Regions from separate parts of the Homo sapiens genome. Here region 1 is linked to region 2. The links are contacts of gene promoters, found by promoter capture Hi-C in blood cells and fetal thymus (Javierre and others, 2016). All regions are on one chromosome and are shown on one strand. Each heading gives the region's core, a stretch centred on a gene start or on the middle of the fragment in contact. The rest is flanking DNA. Distances are from core to core; before and after follow the strand shown.

The links. The method cuts DNA at HindIII sites, captures the fragments that hold promoters and counts their contacts. A CHiCAGO score of 5 or more calls a contact.
Region 1: a fragment that was not itself captured here is called in contact with the fragment with the promoter of SLC47A1 in region 2 in 2 of 17 cell types (M0 macrophages and M1 macrophages); the score reaches 6.2 in M0 macrophages.

Annotation. Positions count from the first base shown.
Region 1 is chr17:19,653,443-19,657,428 of GRCh38, reverse strand. ALDH3A2 (aldehyde dehydrogenase 3 family member A2) reads right to left here. Exons shown (of 10, transcript NM_000382.3): 4 at 855-1,063. Among named protein-coding and RNA genes, the nearest start is that of ALDH3A2, 6.7 kb to the right of the region's middle. The HindIII fragment of the contact is 1,156 bases long and covers 741-1,896 here.
Region 2 is chr17:19,531,457-19,536,014 of GRCh38, reverse strand. SLC47A1 (solute carrier family 47 member 1) reads right to left here and starts at 2,161. Exons shown (of 17, transcript NM_018242.3): 1 at 1,941-2,161. The coding sequence starts at 2,075. The HindIII fragment of the contact is 8,699 bases long and covers 1,068-4,558 here.

The sequences.
Region 1 (3,986 bases), core at 69-2,568, 120 kb before region 2:
TTCCAGTCCAGCCAAAGGAAAGTCCTGGATGACCAGAGTTCGGTACAGACTCTCCTGGTTGTGGCTTTTGGCTCTGCCTGCAAGATGTTCAGGTATAAAGCAGGATGTCAGCCAGCCTCCAAGGCCATCCTCCTCTTTGTGGAGCCCTGCCCCACTTGGGAAGACCTTTCCTATGCATGGGCAGAAACCCATGCCCTAAACATTCACTAACTGAGGGTGTCTGGTTTTGACAAATGGATTTCTACTTAGGAAGCCAACCTGGAACCCTGACCTGGAATCTCTGAAGGGCAGAGAAAGCCACACCACCCAGAGCACAGAGTCAGTTCTATGATTTGGCACTTCTTAGTAGCTAAACCGGATTTAGCAGAGAGAACCTGAAACCTCTTATTTTCTAATTTTCAGATGCAAGATGTTATTCACAGTTAAAAAATGAGGAACACTTGTTTTGCCCACAAAGGATCTCAGTTAAGATATCAGCATAATACCCTCTCAAATGGGCATTTAAAGATTTTATTAGGCACACACAATACTTTGGATTATGTACTTCACAGATCACTGGCCAGAAGAACGTTAAAATTTCTTGCTAGATCTAGCTGTAATCTTGAGAACAGATATAACTTTTTTAAAATTCCTAAGGACAACCACATGATGTCAGGACTTACAGCTCACCATTTTTGACAGTGGCGCCAAGAGACAGTGAAAGACTCCTGTTACTCTTGAGGACATCAACCACCAAAGCTTAATAATGTATCTTGGAGCCATAAGGTATGGGGTTCAAGTACAAAGAGTAACATTGTCAGGAAAAGTCTCCATTGTGCTGGGAAAACCTCAGAAAATCAGAGAGCCAGACTCACCTGCAAACAATGTCCAGGTCACAATCTTTATCAATATAACATGGACTTTTCCCTCCCAGTTCAAGAGTCACAGGGGTCAGATGCTTGGCAGCAGCTTCCATGACAATTTTGCCAACCGCAGTGTTTCCCGTATAGAAAATGTGGTCAAATCGCTGCTTCAGGAGCTCCGTGGTTTCCTCAACACCACCATTAATAACAATATAGAGATCCTCAAAGAAAGAGAAACACAAACTCTTGCACTGCCAAATAAATCCTAACGTCTAACATCAGCAATCTCTTCAACATAAACATGTAACATTCAGTAAAACCCAGAGAGTGTCAAGACCAGTCCCTGTGAGGGATGGGAGAGGGAACTGACCAAGGACAAGAGGAGAACACACAGTCCGATGGCATCTGGGAAGCATGAACCCACATAGAACTAATCTGGAGACTCCAGTGTTTTTTTACATGAGCTCAGCAACAAAGACACTAAGGAGAACAAATGGTTGAATTTGACCAGGGAAAATGCATGAGACGCGGGTGTGTGCAGAAGTGCCTCTGGTGAAGAGTGGCTCCCACAGGACAGGTCATGCATGTCTTAGTCTGAATGTTCTCTGTCTCACAACACAGAGTGGGCTTAGCCCACGCTATTCTGAATGAATGGTATATCCGGCACAGTAGCTGAGAGCGCTTGCTTTTGAAGTGTATCTGGTTTGAATCTGGGCTCTGCCACTCACTAGCTTATGCAACCTTAGGCAAGCTACTGAACATCTCTGAGCCTCAATTTCCTCATCTGTTACTGGGAGAATTCACGTAGCTTCTGTGGACTGAGCCCATCTATGCATTGTGCTATCATTACCAGCTATTCTAAGAGAGAACATCTTGGACAATAACAGCATCAAAAGTAAGAGAACAGATGGCAAGCAAGGAAGACAGAGAGGTATTCAAGACTCCAAGGTGGAAGTGTGAAGTAAAAGCTGGCTTGTGGATCTCATGTTTCCACTTGAAGGCGAATTAATTTCATTCACTTCATGGTTCAGCTGCCCAACAAATGTTTCAAGCTTTAACTTTTCTATGGCTTAATCTACATAGCATATATTATTGATCCCCTAACACGGTAACTGAAGCTGGTAGAGCATTATTATCCTCCTTATCCGGACAGAGTCAGTTATTGAAGAATTTACCCCTGGTCAGGGGCAAAGCGGTACCTTCAACCTCTATCTTCTGGTTCTACGTCCTATTCAATCCTTGACATCTCACTGTCTTCCATTTCATCTTTCTTGATTGGATCATCACAGCTATTAGAACAAAATGGCTCTAACAAAGAGAAAAATATCATTCCAAGAACCAGAACTGGCCTCAATCCATCACAAGTTGATGTACAGAATACAGGTAAGATATTTTTAAGCTGTATTTCGCTTAAAGCTAAATGAAGACTCCTCCCTGTAGCAACTGCATGTAGAACTCAGCAGTGCCAATTTCTTCGCGGCATCATAACTTCCTCCCCAGGAAGGCATAAGAACCTCTGACTCAGACAGATGAACTACCCGCAGTTGGGCAGATCATTTTCTTTATTCAGTTCTTGATATTCTTAAATGCCAGCATGTTAAGTCAGTGTGAGGATCTGCCCTCTAGTTCAGGAGGGCACTTTTTGTGTATGTGTGGCATGTTTTCATGCCACAGACATGTCTTTTTTGAAAGCAGAAGTACTCTTATAGGCTGGGTGAGAGGTGAGAGCGTGCGGGCAACCCTTGCTCGCTCTCAGCACCTCCTTGGCCTTGGCACCCACTCTCGCCACGCTTGAGGAGCCCTTCAGCCCACAGCTGCACTGTGGGAGCCCCTCTCTGGGCTGGCCAAGGCTGGAGCCGGCTCCTTCTGCTTGTGGGAAGGTGTGGAGGGAGAGGCGCAGGCAGGAACCGGGGCTGCGCGTGGCGCTCACAAGCCAGAGCGAGTTCTGGGTGGGCGCAGGCTCAATGGGCCCCACACTCGGAGCAGCTGGCCGGCGCCGCCAGCCCTGGGCAATGAGGGGCTTAGCACCTGGGCCAGCTGCTGAGGAGGGTGCCCCGGGTCCCCCAGCAATGCCAGCCCACCAGCGCCACACTCGAATTCTCGCCGGGCCTCAGCCACCTCCCCGCAGGGCAGGGCTCGGGACCTGCAGCCCGCCATGCCCAAGGCCCCCACCCCGCCCCTGGTGGGTTCCCATGCTGCCCGAGCCTCCCTGATGGGCGCCGCCCCCTGCTCCACAGCGCCCAGTCCCATCGACCGCCCAAGGGCTGAGGGGTGCAGGCGCGCAGCGCTGGACTGATGGGCAGCTCCACCCACAGCCCCGGCGTGGGATCCACTAGGCAAAGCCAGCTGGGCTCCTGAGTCGGGTGGGGACTTAGAGAACTTTTATGTCTAGCCGGAGGATTGTATATGCACCAATCAGCACTCTGTGTCTAGCTTGGGGTTTGTGGATGCACCAATCAGCACTCTGTATCTAGCTAATCTGGTGGGGATTTGGAGAACTTTTATGTCTAGCTAGAGGATTGTAAAAGCACCAGTCAGCACTCTATGTCTAGCTCAAGGTTTGTAAATGCACCAATCAGTGCTCTGTGTCTAGCTAATCTAGTGGGGACTTGGAGAACTTTTATGTCTAGCTAGAGGATTGTAAATGCACCAATCAGCATTCTGTGTCTAGCTCAGGGATTGTAAACGCACCAATCAGCACCCTGTCAAAACGGACCAATCAGCTCTCTGTAAAATGGACCAATCAGCAGGATGCGGGTGGGGCCAGATAAGGGAATAAAAGCAGGCTGCCCAAGCCAGCAGCGGCAACCTGCTCGGGTCCCCTTTGACACTGTGGAAGCTTTGTTCTTTCAGTCTTTGCAATAAATCTTGCTGCTGCTGCTCACTCTGGGTCCGCACTGCCGTTATGAGCTGTAACACTCACTGCGAAGGTCTGCAGCTTCACTCCTGAGGCCAGCGAGACCACGAACCCACCGGGAGGAATGAACAACTCCAGACAGGAGGAACTAACAACTCCAGATGCGCCGCCTTAAGAGCTGTAACACTCACCACGAAGGTCTGCAGCTTCACTCCTGAAGCCAGCAAGACCACGAACCCACCAGAAGGAAGAAACTCCGAACATGTCCGAACATCAGAAGAAACAAA
Region 2 (4,558 bases), core at 912-3,411:
AGCCTGGCCGACAGATCAAGACCCTGTCTCAAAAAATAATAATAATAATAAAACAATAATAGCCTTAGAAAGCCCCTTCTCACAGCAGCTCTGTGAGGGAGTGTTGAACCAAGACATGATTATTATCTCCATTTTACAAATGAATATGCAGAGACCAGAAGAGGTTAGGAGGCTGTTTCAATCTGCACAGCTGCTTCCTGACTTACTTTCGGAGGTCAAAGCAGGGCACGCAGCCCCAGGTCTTGAGATTCCAAATCATGAGGTGTTTTTTTGCCCAGGCTGGAGTGCAATGGCGCGATCTGGGCTCACTGCAACCTCCGCCTCCCGGGTTCAAGCGGTTCTCCTGCCTCAGCCTCCCAAGTAGCTGGAATTACAGGCGCCTGCCACCATGCCCAGCTAATTTTTATTTTTTATTTTTTGTATTTTTAGTATAGACGGGGTTTCACCAGGTTGGCCAGGATGGTCTCAATCTCTTGACCTCGTGATCCGCCTGCCTTGGCCTCCCAAAGTGCTGGGATTACAGACGTGAGCCACCACGCCCAGCCATGAGGTGTTTTTGTTTTGTTTTGTTTTGTTTTTTGAGACCAAGTCTTACTCTGTTGTTCAGGCTGGAGTGCAGTGGCACCATCCTGGCTCACTGTAACCTCCACTTCCCAGGTTCAAGCGATTCTCGTGCCTCAGCCTCTGGAGTAGCTGGCACTACAGGCGCCCGCCACCACGTCTGGCTAATTTTTGTATTTTTAGTAGAGACGGAGTTTCACCATATTGGCCAGGCTGGTCTCGAACTCCTGACCTCAAGTGATCCATCTGCCTCAGCCTCCCAAAGTGCTGGGATTACAGGCGTGAACCACCGCGCCCAGCCCCAAATCATGAGTTCTTTCTGGTCTGTGAGAAAGCATGGCTGATGGATCTTATTCCATGGCTTTGACCTCGGCATTACCCTTGCTGTCCTGCACACCACAGCGGGTGCCACAATATCCCACAAACTACCGAGCCCCCACTCCAGAGGCACAGCGGCCCCCCTCAGCCCGCGCAGGTGCAGAATGTGGGCCTCAAAGTCAAAAGCTTATTCACGCCTTAAGTGCATACCAGTTGCTTCTTGTGCCGCGTCCTACCCTCTCGGTTTGAAAACCACCCAAGCTGGCAGGAGAACGTGGATAGGATTGTGTTTTTGTGGTTTTTAAAACCACATTATTTTTAGGAGACAAGGCAGAAACAGCCCTAACCTAATGATTAAAAAGAAAAGAATCCCACAGATAAGAACACCTCGACCCCACAAAGAACCACATTAAAACCCCTTTTTTCTTTCACATACATAATTACTGGCGGGGAGGGGGTGGTACAGGATGCCTCTGGTTTCCTCGGTAGAGGTTGACTGAATTCTGAAGAAATCATTTCGCAGCTCTGAGTCCACGACAGACCACGCACCCCCTCCTCCGTGCCTCGGGATTATTTAGATCGCAGAGCTCCCGAACTTTTGACCGCTACTTTTCAAAGAAACAAGTTCCCTTGTGTTTTGAAGTTCAGGCAACTTGCGTTTTATTGGCCGGAATCAGCTCCCAGAGAAGGCACCCCCGGATGCAAATGCAGCCTGGACCTGGTAGAGCCCCGTTAGGGGCAAAGGTCCCAGCTCTCCGGTGTCTCCTGGCGCAGGAGGCTGGAGCCGCCGGCCTCTCCGAGCCAACATGCGCCCGGGCGCGTACCAGCCGTTCCCGCAGTGCCCCGCGGGGCCCCCAGTCGGGTGGTGCGGAGCGGAAAGCGGCCGGGACGCAGGCAGAGGAGCTGGGGTGCCCGCCCGGCTCCTGGCACGATGCTCCCCGGAGCCCGCCGGCGGACAGCTCGCTCGGTCCCCAAAGCCCGCCAAAGTCACCCGCGGAGGCAGAAATCACCAGGTCCCCAGCCCGCCGGTACCGGCCTGCCACTGAGGCCACCTTACTCACCGCGGGGCCAGCCAGGACCAAGAGCGCCCGCAGCTCTTCTCGGAAGGCGGACAGCCGCAAGCAGCGCGACCCACGGACCTCAAGGGTGGCCTCCGGGCCTCCGCGCACTGGCGCGGGCTCCTCAGGAGCTTCCATGTGACTCGCGCGCTGCGGCCGGGTAGCGCGGAGGCCGGCAGTGGGTACCGCGGAGGCCGGCAGTGAGTACCGCGCAGGCCGGCAGTGGGTACCGCGCAGTGCAGCCTGCTCTGCAGTCCCCGCCCCGGCCGCCCGCCCAGAGCCCGCCCCGCGCCTGGCGCCCGGGGGCCCGACTGAGCGCGCAGCCAGGCAGCCTGCGACCTTGGGCGCGCCCCTTGCACCTCTCTCTGCACCACTGCGGACGCCTGCGGGTCTTGCAAAGACCAAGGAACTCCTGCACTTGGAAGGCAAAGTTTGAAAAAGCTCTGTAAACTAACGGAACGCGCTCCGGGGGCTGGGTCCTCCACGTCTCGGACGCCAGGACTCACCCCGGCTCTCCACCTCCGCTGGGGGTTTCAGGTTCTGAATGACCTGGCGTGGAAGGACCCAGAGGCCTCGAGCCGTGACTCGGTTAGCACCCCGCGGGGTGTGTGGGGTTGGGCGCATTTGCTGTGCAGATTGAGTTGGGTACACCCTTTGATGCTGGTTAGGGTGTTGCATACTCCTCTCCTCTCATCAGTTGTTCCATTAGAGAACTTAGAATCTACCAGGATAGAGCAACATGCTCCCATTTGCCAAGTAGCACAGTTTGTGCCAGCTGGTCGTGTTGGAAGTTTATCCATCAAGCCTGCTGTGGGAGTACGAGAGGCTGCGGCCCAGAAGGGCAGGAGCAGCGCGCTTTCCTCCCAGAGCCTCAGCTTCCTCATCTGCAAACGTGAAAGAACACTCGTCGCCAGCTGTGAAGACTGGGGTTGCCTGGGCGGAGGACCGGAGTCAGTGCCACCTGCCCTCAGCCTGGCACCAGCCGTTACCTAATAAGTGTCAGTTACCAGGACAAGATTGATTTCTCTAATAGTCAAAATTCCTTCCGTTGTAATGATCCAATGTAAGTAGAGAAAATGGAAAACAAATTTTTTGGCTCACATAATCAGGAAGTTTGGATTCAGGGATTTGAAAACAAGGTCATTAGGCCAGGCGCGGTGGCTCACGCCTGTAATCCCAGCACTTTGGGAGGCCTAGGCGGGCGGATCACAAGGTCAAGAGATCGAGACCATCCTGGCCAACATGGTGAAACACCGTCTGTACCGAAAATTAGCTGTGCATGGTGGCGCGCGCCATAATCCCAGCTACTAGGGAGGCTGAGGCAGGAGAATTGCTTGAACCCGGGAGGCAGAGGTTGCAGTGAGCCGAGATCTCGCCACTGCACTCCAGCCTGGTGGCAGAGGGAGACTCCACTCAAAAAAAAAAAAAAAACAAAACCAGATCATTCTTGTTGTCCCTCTTCCCATCTCTGTCCCTCTCCTCCCTTCTCCTCGCCCCTTGGGATTCTTTCCGTAGTTTCTCTTCCTCCTCTGCCGGCAGCCTTTCTCTTCCTGTGCAAGTGACAGTGGTGGCCTCTGATACCCTCGTTCCTATCTTTCCCGTCTGTTAAACCAGAAAGTAAGGCCCTCCCCTCCTCTCTTCTGGTTCCAAACTAACAAACAAAAAACTGGGAGAAAATCTGGTTGGCCCTGCTTAGGTTTCTTGCCCACCTCTGGAACAATCGCCCTGGGTGGGAAAATAGGGTCTGATGTTTGGCTGGCCCTGGACCATGCACCCAGCTTTGAACCTACAGGGTTAGGGTTAGGTGCCCTGTGACTGGTCTCGTCCCACAAGGACTGTACATATGGAGTAGCGCAGTTTCCCAAAAGAACTGAGAGTGTCAACAGACAAATACCCGAGGATATTCACTAGATCTCTGATCACTGCTGTTTTTTGATAATTTTCTGGAAGTCCTGACTGATGTAATAAGACAGGAAATGGAAATGTAATGTATAATGTTAGGAAAGAAAAGGCAAAGGGATTACTCACAGTAGAAATTGACAGACCGGGCCAGGCACAGTGGCTCATGCCTATAATCCCAACACTTTGGAAGGCCGAGGTGGGAGGATCACTGGAACCCAGGAGTTTTGAGACCAGCCTGGGCAACACAGTGAGACCCCATCTCTTAAAAAAAATCCACACAACCCAAAGAAATAAAATATGAACAAAAGCTAATAGAATTGATAAAGGGGTTTAATAAAGTTGCTACATAGAAGTTCTTCAACAAGTCATATCAGTCCTTTATATTGGTAATAACATATATGAAAATACTAAAAGAAATCTTTCACAATAGCAACAAAAAACAAAAGGTCCTCGTGATACAGAGCATAACTCCTCACTCCTTAAAGGTGGATTGTACACAGTGACTTCCTTCCAAAAAGTAGCACAGGAAAATTAATTTTCAATTAATATATTAGGTTTTAGTCCACTACTGTGTATTCCATTATTTTAAAATTTAATAGAATGATTCTAAAAGCAATTGATAGTGTAAACAGGAAAAGATATAACAAAAACTCTGAAAAAGAAAAGTAAGGAGGAAAGAAGTAGCTCTATTGGCTGGTAAATAGCTTTTAAAACAACGT